Regions from separate parts of the Homo sapiens genome. Here all the other regions are linked to region 1. Evidence: promoter capture Hi-C in 16 types of primary human blood cells and fetal thymus (Javierre and others, 2016). All regions are on one chromosome and are shown on one strand. Each heading gives the region's core, a stretch centred on a gene start or on the middle of the fragment in contact. The rest is flanking DNA. Distances are from core to core; before and after follow the strand shown. Region 1 holds the start of UBQLN2 (ubiquilin 2). Region 2 overlaps KLF8 (KLF transcription factor 8). Region 3 has its middle 71 kb from the start of KLF8.

Region 1 (3,963 bases), core at 1,464-3,963:
AGGGTGAGTATGGTTTTGCCCCTCTGATGTGTATTTTGGTGAGGGAATTGTCAGCCAAGACAATCGCCAATTAATAAAGATTTGTGTATTTGACTTGATTCTTCAAATACTTTCTTAGATTTACTTAACAAATTTTATTTTTTCTGTTTGTTAATTCATTAATATTTGCTTTTATCATTCTATAGCTGTCACCTCACTTCCCTCCTTTTATTTTCCGTTGCCTTCTTTATTCGAATGCCTACTTCCCTTATTTTCAATCTGTTGTTTGATATTTTAAGTCTTTGAATGTATAAATTTGACTCTGAGTTCATCCACATAGTACTTAATAAATGAAATAATATTAAACTGGACCTTGATACAAATGCAGCTTCCAGTGCACCACTTATTTCAGTAGGTTTGGCGTGGGGCCTAGAAACATGCATTCTTAACAATGTTCTCAGATCACACGTAGAAAAATCCTAGCATTAGTATTGCTGTATATGCTCTCATTATCATTATTTTTGTAAATTTATTCTAATAAGAACATTGCACTTTGCCCCAAAAGTATTCAGTTATGTTTTAATAATCAAATGGTTGGTTTTTTGTTCATACTTTGATTATTAATATCTAGCTTTATTCTATGGAAATTAAAGATTACCTATAATATTTTCATATTCTCACCACCCATAATTAACTATTGCTGATATTTTATCATATTTGCTTTCATTTTAAAGATAAAAAGCATTTTTACATATTTAAGTTCCCTTTACTCACTATCCTGTATCCTATTCCATTTCCTCTTCCTCATGGGTGCAAGTTTGGTATATTTCTAAAAGAATATTTCAAATATACATAAGAATGTATTAGAGTGCTGTTTGGCATGTATTAGGTTGGTGCAAAAGTAATTGCGGTTTTTGCTATTACTTTCAATGGCAAAAACCATTGTATAATAGTAACAATTCGTTACTTTCAATGGCAAAAACCGCAATTACTTTTGCATCAACCTAATACTAATTAATTTGGCTTTTTAGATCTATACATATTAACATATTTAAAGCTAGTCATCTTTTTACCTCTGTATTTTATTAATTATATTAATAAAATAGAGAGGTAAAATAATATTAATTCTTCCATTTCTCCATCGATGGATATAACATACCTGTATATATATATTTTTCTTATCTTCAGATTTATTAAAGTATTTGTGACCTAATGACTTTGAAATGCTGTTAAATGTTGAAAGCAGTGGTGCTTTGGTGGATGCTTGGTAGAGGGTGGGGGTTGGGGAAGAATTTTCTGTGTGGTTTAACCTAGAGTTAGAAATATATAGATAAATTTGAAATTATTTCTTCTATTTTTCAAGTTCTCTTTCTCAGCATTGCTACATCTTTATTGCTCTTACTTAATCTGTAATTAAATTAGGTAAATATGTCAATGTTTGCCACTACTATTATGTGCCTGTCAATTTCTACCCATACTCTTCCCCAAAATACCTTTCTGTAGTGCATACTTACAAAAATCATCAGAAAATTCAAAATCTTATGAAAATAGAAAATAAGAATTATTCATAATTTCAGCAAACAGTACTAACAGCCATTAACTTATTTGTGCATAGCCTTCCAGATTTTTTTACACATACGGTTTACATATACAACAAACTGTTCAAAAATTGCTTTTAAAATAAAAATATATTTATTGTATTTTTGATATTGGAACATATATTCTTATATAGTTTGTAACTGTACAGAAATATACAAAGGCATAATTGAAAATACTCTGTGATTTCCCTATAACTACAGTTTATTTCATGTATACCTTTAAAGACACTCTATATTTTCTTGTATGGTAATATGATAATGTGCTCAACTAATCTCATGTAAACAGATAGTTAATATATTTAAATAACATTTTAAAATGCTACAATGTATATACATTTTATACATAAATATTTTTGCATCCTCATCCGATTATTAGGCGAAGTGTCTAGGTTAGGCATTTCTAAATAAAGGTGGAAACATTCAAAATGCTGATATATATTTTCAAATTGCCCTATGGTTGTAACAATTCACACTTCAGCTAGCCTGAGAGGGCATTTTTTAGGGTCCCTGTCAACAAGAAGGTTTACCATTATTTTTTTCCCTGCCAATATGATAAGCCAAAAGTAGAATTTTATTGTTTTAACTTGATTTCTTTTTATTAGTAGTGAAATTAATCATCCTTTTTTAATGTCTATTGGCCATTTGCACTCCTTTTGTAAAATGCACGCTCCTGCTCTGTCTTCTTCCCTTCCCCTACTGGAGGTGTTCCTCTTTTCTTTTTGCTTTGTCAGAGTTCTTTATTATTCATTTTTCGTCTTATACGTGGGATCTGTTCGATTCAGGCTTTCACCCTTTTACTGCCTTACAGATTGCTAATATACATTCTCCATTGGTCTTTTAATGTCGTTTACAGAAGCTGACTCTCTACCGCCTCCTTCTCTCCGTCTCACCCTCTCTGCCTCGCCTGCTCTGTACTGTTCTGTTCTCTTCTCTCTCTCCCTTTGTTTCTCTCTCTCCCTTTTTTCTTTTCAGTGCAGAAGTTTTTAATTTTGACCGAGCCAAATCTATCAATCTAGGCCTGGCGCCGCGTCAGCAGAGGGGGCGGGGAGGCGAGCGCGGAACTGGGGGAGGGGAAGGGGCGGGGATCAGCAGGCGGAGCGGCTGCCAGAGTTGCTGGGAGTGCGCGCGGTCGGATCACAAGGCGGCGGCGGAGGAGGCCCAGAGACCGGAGCGCGGAGACCTCAGCCAGCGGCCTACGCCCAGGCCTTTCTCCACCGGAGGACCAGGGAACCGCAGTCTTCATCACAGAGGTACCGTGCTCCGCGCTCCCCGCCTGACCCGGCCCAGCCCGCTGCGGCGGTGCCTCCTTCCTTCCTCCTTCCCTCGCGCTCTCTCTTTCGCCCGCCCGCGCCTTCCCTGCCCGCCTGCGTCACCGCGGCCGCCATGGCTGAGAATGGCGAGAGCAGCGGCCCCCCGCGCCCCTCCCGCGGCCCTGCTGCGGCCCAAGGCTCGGCTGCTGCCCCGGCTGAGCCTAAAATCATCAAAGTCACGGTGAAGACTCCCAAAGAGAAAGAGGAGTTCGCGGTGCCCGAGAACAGCTCGGTTCAGCAGTTTAAGGAAGCGATTTCGAAACGCTTCAAATCCCAAACCGATCAGCTAGTGCTGATTTTTGCCGGAAAAATCTTAAAAGATCAAGATACCTTGATCCAGCATGGCATCCATGATGGGCTGACTGTTCACCTTGTCATCAAAAGCCAGAACCGACCTCAGGGCCAGTCCACGCAGCCTAGCAATGCCGCGGGAACTAACACTACCTCGGCGTCGACTCCCAGGAGTAACTCCACACCTATTTCCACAAATAGCAACCCGTTTGGGTTGGGGAGCCTGGGAGGACTTGCAGGCCTTAGCAGCCTGGGCTTGAGCTCGACCAACTTCTCTGAGCTCCAGAGCCAGATGCAGCAGCAGCTTATGGCCAGCCCTGAGATGATGATCCAAATAATGGAAAATCCCTTTGTTCAGAGCATGCTTTCGAATCCCGATCTGATGAGGCAGCTCATTATGGCTAATCCACAGATGCAGCAATTGATTCAGAGAAACCCAGAAATCAGTCACCTGCTCAACAACCCAGACATAATGAGGCAGACACTCGAAATTGCCAGGAATCCAGCCATGATGCAAGAGATGATGAGAAATCAAGACCTGGCTCTTAGCAATCTAGAAAGCATCCCAGGTGGCTATAATGCTTTACGGCGCATGTACACTGACATTCAAGAGCCGATGCTGAATGCCGCACAAGAGCAGTTTGGGGGTAATCCATTTGCCTCCGTGGGGAGTAGTTCCTCCTCTGGGGAAGGTACGCAGCCTTCCCGCACAGAAAATCGCGATCCACTACCCAATCCATGGGCACCACCGCCAGCTACCCAGAGTTCTGCAACTACCAGCACGA
Region 2 (3,963 bases), core at 512-3,011, 280 kb before region 1:
CTCAAGTGATCCATGTGCCTCAGCCTCCCAAAGTGCTGGGATTACAGGCATGAGCCACCGCACCTGCCATGTCACACTTACTATCTTTGTCACATAGTTAATATATGTGCTTTATATTATGAATTCTTTCTCTGCATATATACTTTGTTCTTTAATTCAAATGATAAGTTGATGGAGATTACAAGTTGTGTTGTATGATGTTCATTGGCACAAACAGGAGCTTGTTCAATGATAATACAAGGGTAAATGCTTTTGAAATAGGAAAATGGGCCTCACTGCTGAATTCCTTTACAATAATTTGTGTGTTCTAGAAATGAGCTCTGATCACCACAGGGTGTCACTGCCTTACAAGTCAAATTTTCCTCAATTGGTTGAGGTGTATATAGGAATTCTCAGAAGACATTCTTGAGAGATCACAACAAAATGTATAGATAGCAATGCAGCCATTGGGAGATGTGGAGATGCTATAAAATCACATAGAACAAAAAGTGAAAATTTAATTTACACACTCTAAACATCCCCTGAAATCCTATTCTTCTTCCCTCTGTTAACAATTTGTTGTATAGCCTTCCAGATCTTTCCTCCTTGGAGAGAGAGAGACAGAGAAGGACAGGCACAAGATTTAGAAAACATAAATGAGATCCTACTCTCCGTGAGCATGTGTGTGTGTGGTTGTTCAGTATCTTTTTTAATTTGATAACATTTCATTTGCCATCTTTTTTGTCTCATTACATCCAGCTTTATCTCATTCTTCTTAGCAGCTAATGCAGCTATTTCTGAATATTGAAATGATCAGTAATTGATGTCTTTAATCTTTGAAATGTTTGCCTTGATATAGTCCAAAGCTGTGATTCAGACTGGATTTCATTCTGTTGCTCATTATGTGAACACTATACAGTTAATTAGCAAACACTTGGGAGGGTTGGTAGGTGGTGTGTAGTAAGTTGGAAAACAGTTTATGCAAGCCAGATTGCCACCAGAATTTAGAACAGCATAAAATTAAATGCCCTAGGTAATTTACAGGGAGTAAAGGGGAAAAGACCGAGAGAAAGAGACTGTTAGAATACCAATGCATTTTTGTGTCTGCATTATTGTTTGTTTCTGATTGTAAAATAATACATGCTCATTGTAGAAGATGGGAAACAGAAAAATGTATTAAGAAGAAAGCAAACATTACCCTAATCCTACAACCCAGACTTATCCACAGTTAATATTTATTGTTGCTCATATAGCTTATTTCCTTTTTCAAAATTTTTATTATATGATACAACATTATGATTTTAAAGCATTTAAAACAGTACAAAAGGGTATAAAGTAAAAATGAAAAGTTCTCTTCCCACCATCCCTGGTCCTCACTTTCCACAAAGTCATTCACTGTTAACAGTTTCTCTCATAATGTACATTTAAGTGTATTGATATTGGCTTTATTATGAGTATACAAATGTATGGTGTGTGATCTATATACCATAATGGGGTCATACTGCGTTAATTTTTTTATACTACTTTTTTTCCATTTAGCTTTCTATCTTGAGCATACATATCCTATATATAATTCAAATACAACCCAAAGATTCTGGGCATGGAGCTATTTCAAAAAGTTTGACCTGACACTGCCCCCCATGCCATTACATGCCCTTGAGTTTCTAACCTTACACAAAAGACCTGTAGCCTTAGCTGAGGGCCCTTTCCAATGAATCACACATTCATCCTGTGTATATATGGCTCTATTTTATTTTATTTTATTTATTTTTTTGAGACAGGTCTCGCTCTCTCCTAGGCTGGAGTGCAGTGGCGCAATCTCGGCTCACTGCAAGCTCCGCTTCCCGGGTTCACGCCATTCTCCTGCCTCAGCCTCCTGGGTAGCTGGAACTACAGGCGCCCTCCACGACGCCCAGCTTATTTTTTTCATTTTTAGTAGAGACGGGGTTTCACCGTGTTAGCCAGGATGTTCTCAATATACTGATCTCATGATCCGTCCGCCTCTGCCTCTCAAAGTGCTGGGATTACAGGCGTGAGCCACCGCACCGGACCATATGGCTCTATTTTAGACTGTTTGGTAGGAGATATTAGAGGAACGGATATTATAAAGTGCCAAAGACCTGAGTTTAGATCCCAGTTGTATTGGTTGCTAGCTATCTTTTAAAAATAAAATGTTTTGAACAACTTTGTGATATATTTTTATCCTTTAGAGATGAGAAAACAGAGACCAAGCCAGGGAGAAGTGATTATATAAGATCACACAGCTAGTTTGTAGTAGAGCCGGATCACACAAAGGCCTATTTGAACAAGAGGCTATGTGCTTCCCACTCTAACATCTTGGACTTTCTTTAGAACTCCTGTAGGTAACAATGTATTGTATTATTGAAAATCAATGAGAGAGTAGATTTCAAGTGTTCTTACCACAAAAAAAGATAAGTATATAGGTAATATGTATGTTAATTAACTCGACTTAGCCATTCCACAATGTATATACATCTCAAAACATCATGTTGTACATTTATACAGTGCTTCTCAATCAATTAATTAACTTAAAAGATTTACAGGCATATGCCTTCAAGGTTATTGCCTAGCCTTTTCACTAAAGCCTTGATACGAGTTATGTATTCTATTATCTTTCTAGTATCCGATCATCCTCTCTCTGATTCTCTTTTTTTTGTCACATTCCCTTTTTAGGAGAGAAGCCTTATAAATGCACCTGGGATGGCTGCTCCTGGAAATTTGCTCGCTCAGATGAGCTCACTCGCCATTTCCGCAAGCACACAGGCATCAAGCCTTTTCGGTGCACAGACTGCAACCGCAGCTTTTCTCGTTCTGACCACCTGTCCCTGCATCGCCGTCGCCATGACACCATGTGAGCCGCACAGGTCACACTAGAGAAGCTGCGCTGGTATCTTTCCTGGTCGTGTGCTGAGGTTGGGACAATTTTTTCCTCTTTGACTTCAGCTTGCATATGGGGTTGAAGCAGCCCACTGAGCCAAGTTGAGGAGACTGGAGGAAAAGAGAGCTGGTCTCCCGTGGGGCTCTTCATATTCTACCTTCACTTCTCCACTGTCCAGACCCGTTTTTTTCAACCTCCACATGGGTTGAATTCCAGTGTGGCACCCATGGCTGCCTTCCCATCCCCCCCTGCTCTGAAATAGGACATTTTTCCTACAGTAACAAAACAGGAATCAAACTCAAGGCTGTGAACAAACATACGCTGCTTTATTCTTTCCAATTTTTCTCTTGTTTTCTAGAACTCTTATCCATATGTTTTTAAAATAAGTACCTAAAAGTGGTTTGATAGTGTCCTAAACGACTTTTTTAACTTCCTAAATGGAAAGAGCATAACAATGTAGTTGATTGGTAAGATTTACAGGGATTTGGTTTCTGAGTTTGAGGCACATTCCCAGTGAATAAGCTGAGTCCCATACCACACTCAAAAGGTTTTAATAAATCTAATCCTATTTCTTCTTAAAGTTTGGTTTTCAGACAGTGCTGGTGCTTCTGCTTCTTAAGTTCATCAAGGGAATGAGGAGTTCTTGTCCTTCTCCTCCTCTTTTTTTTCTTTTCCACTTTCTCCTTCAGGATTAAAGATTTTGCTGCACAATTGTTATTTGTTAGGTTAAATTTGGACAAATATTCAAAGCACACATAGACATATAAGTAAGGAGAAAAATGTTCCAGGAGAGTAGGTTGGGCAGTGACAGGAACAAACAGACCTAGGATGATCCTGAGAACAAATAGAGGGGTTCCTTTACTTGTATAGGATATCAAAAGTGCTGTTAATCACAAACCTCATTCAAATGGCAGGCTGTCGAGACAGTGTCTTGAGGGGCTGGCTGTACTGTTTATTTTTTCGTTTACACAAAGAAGCAATTGAGTATATTGCATGATGAGAAATCACACACTAGGGTCATGTTATACAGAAGTAAGGGGTTGGAAAAATGGAATGTTGTTCACTCCATGGAATTATTGGCATTC
Region 3 (3,963 bases), core at 638-3,137, 260 kb before region 1:
TTTAGTTGAACGATTTGAAAGTGAGTGGAATAGAGGTCATGACAATCGACCAATAAATACTTTTGTGTGCATTGCTTAAGAACAAATATATTCTCCTACATAACCAAAATGCATTATCATAATTGAGAGAATAAAAATAATTCCATAATTTTTTTACCTACTATAAGGTTGTATTGAAATCTATCTAATTGCCCCTAAAATGCCTTCGATCTTTTTTTTTTTCCCAACCTAGGATTCTGTGAAGTTTTACACATTACATTTGGTTATATCTCTTTGGTGTGTTTTAATGAAAATGAAGTATCTTGGAATTTTGTTTGCTTATTCATGACACTGAATTTTTTTTTAAGAGTGCAAGCCAGGTCTTATAGAATATTTCCCATTCTGGATTATTATGATTGTTTCCTTATGACATTCAGATAAAATAATTTTTGTTAAAATACTACGTAAGTTATACTATGTACTTCACATTTCATCTTATCATGAGGTACATAATGTAAATTTATCCCAGTATTTGAAATGCCACATTTGATCACTGCATTAACTGACTTTCCAGATTTCTTCATTGTAAAAGTACATTTTCCTTATGTAATTTTTAATAAATTAATGGGATGATATTCTGTTCTCCATCAGTTTCTCTGAGATTAATGCCCAAGAGTACTATATTTTGGTGAAATGCTAAATGTCTATTGAGTTTTAATCTTAGTTTTATGGTTTTATTTTGTTTTTTTAATTTCTAGAAATTCTATTTGGTTATTGTATAAATCTGTGGGATCATTGTTTATAGTGTACTGTTCATTACAGGTGTTTTAAGCTTATATTTTACCTCTTTAAATGTAACAAGCATAGTCATTATATGTTTTTTGTCTGAGAATTCCAACATCTGAAGTTTTTGTGGGTCTTTCTCTACTATCAGTTTGTTTATGACAGTTCTCCCTCATAGCTCCTTATTCCGCTCTGTTACTGTTTTTTTTTTTTTTTTTTTTTTTTGTGGTGAGCAGCCCATTCTTGAAAATTTATTTATAGGACTTCTTTAAGAGCTTAGATGATGGAACCTTTTTCCATAGGAAATTGGTATTTGCTTCTTTCAGGTCTCTTGGGGTATTATTAGTGTAGAATGACATTAAATAACAGCTTGAGGCCTTTAGGGCCACCTAGATTATGGGAATTTGGGTAGTAATTCTCATAAGGGTGTGCTCGAGTTATAAAATCTCAGTGATGGCTTCATCCCCTGCAATGCATAGGAACCAGGCAACTTTCTTTGTAGTTCTCTGGGGGTTGCTGTGGGTTGGGTATGTTTACATCTACTTCATTCTTTCACTGAAAATATAGCTCTTTAGGGTTCCAAATTTATGGATTCAGGGTCTCTTGTTAGATTTTCCATCTTACATGGAGTCCAGACTTTGTCTTCCATCCCTTTAGAATACCAAACCCATGAAAACAAGGGTTCAATGTGCAAAAGTGGCTTTGATACTCCTGTTATTTTTGTGGACTGCCACATTTTGTAGATTTTGGCCTGAACAAAAAAACATACTATTTTGCCAGCTCTTTATGATATAAGAATAAGTTTTGTACATTATTTACACTTTAGTTGTTTTCAGCGTAAGCATTAGTCAAGATACCTAACCTACTATTTTACTGATATTGGAAGACTTATCTCTAAATACTTTAAATTTGATCCATATGTGGCTATTTGTTACCATGGAATAAGATAAACCTAAATATAGCAGTGTAGCATAGTGATTAATTACACGGTCTTAGGAGTCATAGAAAAGTGGGTTTAAATTACAGCTCTTCCCCTACCTGTGTCAATTCGGCTAACTTTTAAAATTATTCTGCTGAATTTTAATTTTTGTTTTTTCCTTTTCTCATCACCCACATTTTACTAATTTTAATCCTTTTCCATGTTTGCTTTCAGTCTTCTTTTTTAAAAACATATTTTACGTTCAGAATTACATATGCTGGTTTGTTACATAGGTAAATTGCATGTTTGGTTTGGTTTGTAAATTGGGGTTTGGTGAAAAGATAATTTTGCCACCCAGGTAATAAAAGCATAATACATGATAGTACATGACACGGTAGTTTTTCAATCCTCACCCTTCTCCCTTCCTCCGCCCTCAAGTAGGCCCCAGTGTCTGTTGTTTCCTTCTTTGTGTCCACGTGTACTCAATATTTAGCTCCCACTTATAAGTGAAAATATGTGGTGTTGGGTTTTCTCCTCCTGTGTTAGTTCACTTAGGATAATAGCCTTTAGTTTCATCCATGTTGCTGCACAGGACATGATCTTGTTCATTTTTACGGTTGTAGAGTATTCCATGATGTATATGTATCACATTATCTTTATTCAGCCTACTATTGATGGTCATTTAGATTGATTTCATGTCTTTGCTATTTTGAATAGTGCTGCAGTGGACATACATGTGCATGTGGCTTTATGGTAAAATGATTTATATTCCTTTGGGTATATACCCAATAATGGGATTGCTGGGTCAAATGGTAATTCTGCTTTGAGTTCTTTTGGAAATTGCCAAACTGCTTTCCACAATGGCTAAATTAATTTACATTTCCATTAGCAGTGTACAAGCATAACCTTTTCTCTGAAACCTCACCAGCATTTATTATCTTTTGACTTTTTAATAGCCATTCTGACAGGTATAAGATGGTATCTCACTGTGGTTTTGATTTGCATTTCTCCAGTGATTAGTGATGTTTAGTATTGTTTTCATGTGCTTGTTAGCCATATGTATGTCTTCTTTTGAAAAGTGTCCATTCATGTTATTTGCCCACTTTTTAATGGGGTTGTTTGTTTTTTGCTTATTGATTTGTTTAATTTCCTTATAGATTGATTTGTTTAATTTCCTTGTAGATTCTGGATATTAAACGTTTGTTGGATGCATAATTTTCAGATCTTTTCTCTGATTCTGTAAGTAGTCTGATTATTCTGTTCATAGTTTCTTTTGCTGTGCAGAAGCTTTTTAGTTTAATTGTCATATTTGTCAATTGTCAGTTTTGTTAAAATTGCTTTTGGTGTCTTTGTCATGAAATTGCTGCCAGTGCCTATGTCCAGAATGGTATTTCCTGCATTATCTTCCAGGGTTTTTATAATTTTAGATTTTACATTTAAGTCTTTAATCCATCTTCAGTTAATTTTTGTATATGGTATAAGGAAGGTGTCAAGTTTCAGTTTTCTACATAAGGCTAGCCAGTTATCCCAGCACCATTTATTGAATAAGGAGTCCTTTTCCCACTGCTTGTTTTTGCCGACTTCATCGAAGATCAGACAGTTATAGATGTGTTGCATTATTTCCGGGCTATTTTGTTCCATTGGTCTAATGTATCTATTTTTGTACCAGTACCGTTTTATTTTGGTTACTGTAGCTTTGTAGTGTAGTTTGAAGTTGCATAACATAATGTCTCCAGCTTTGATCTTTTTGCTTTGGATTGCTTTGCCTATTCAAGCTTTTTTTTTTGGTTCCATATGAATTTTAAAAAGTTCTGTGGAGGCCAGGAGTGGTGGCTCACGTCTGTAATCCCAGCACTTTGTGAGGCTGAGGTGGGCAGATCATGAGTTCGGGAGATCGAGACCATCCTGGCTAACAAGGTGAAACCCCCTAAAAATACAAAAAATTAGTCTGGCGTGGTGGCGGGTGCCTGTAGTCCCAGCTACTTGGGAGGCTGAGGCAGGAGAATGGCGAGAACATGGGAGGTGGAGCTTGCAGTGAGCCGAGATCGTGCCACTGCACTCTAGTCTGGGCAACAGAGTGAGACTCCATTTCAAAAAAAAAAAAAAGTTCTGTGGAAAATGTCATTGGTACTATGATAGGAATAGCATTGAATCTGTAAATTGCTTTGAGCAGTATGGTCATTTTCACAACATTAATGCTTCCTATACATAAGCAGGGAATGCTTCCATTTGTTTGTGTCATCTCTGATTTCTTTGAGCAGTGTTTTGTAATTCTTATTGTA

The links. The method cuts DNA at HindIII sites, captures the fragments that hold promoters and counts their contacts. A CHiCAGO score of 5 or more calls a contact.
Region 2: a contact is called between a fragment that was not itself captured here and the fragment with the promoter of UBQLN2 in region 1, in 7 of 17 cell types (naive CD4 T cells, total CD4 T cells, naive CD8 T cells and 4 more). The highest score is 13.5, in naive CD4 T cells.
Region 3: a contact is called between a fragment that was not itself captured here and the fragment with the promoter of UBQLN2 in region 1, in 5 of 17 cell types (non-activated CD4 T cells, total CD4 T cells, naive CD4 T cells and 2 more). The highest score is 8.4, in non-activated CD4 T cells.

The regions. Positions count from the first base shown.
Region 1 is chrX:56,560,914-56,564,876 of GRCh38, forward strand. UBQLN2 (ubiquilin 2) reads left to right here and starts at 2,714. Exons shown (of 1, transcript NM_013444.4): 1 at 2,714-3,963. The coding sequence starts at 2,961. RefSeq lists enhancers at 2,417-3,044, 3,441-3,640, 3,651-3,710. The HindIII fragment of the contact is 11,191 bases long and covers 1-3,963 here.
Region 2 is chrX:56,281,640-56,285,602 of GRCh38, forward strand. It overlaps KLF8 (KLF transcription factor 8), which reads left to right. Exons shown (of 6, transcript NM_007250.5): 6 at 2,674-3,963. The coding sequence ends at 2,855. Among named protein-coding and RNA genes, the nearest start is that of KLF8, 51 kb to the left of the region's middle. The HindIII fragment of the contact is 7,753 bases long and covers 1-3,963 here.
Region 3 is chrX:56,300,906-56,304,868 of GRCh38, forward strand. No RefSeq gene overlaps it. Among named protein-coding and RNA genes, the nearest start is that of KLF8, 71 kb to the left of the region's middle. The HindIII fragment of the contact is 2,157 bases long and covers 810-2,966 here.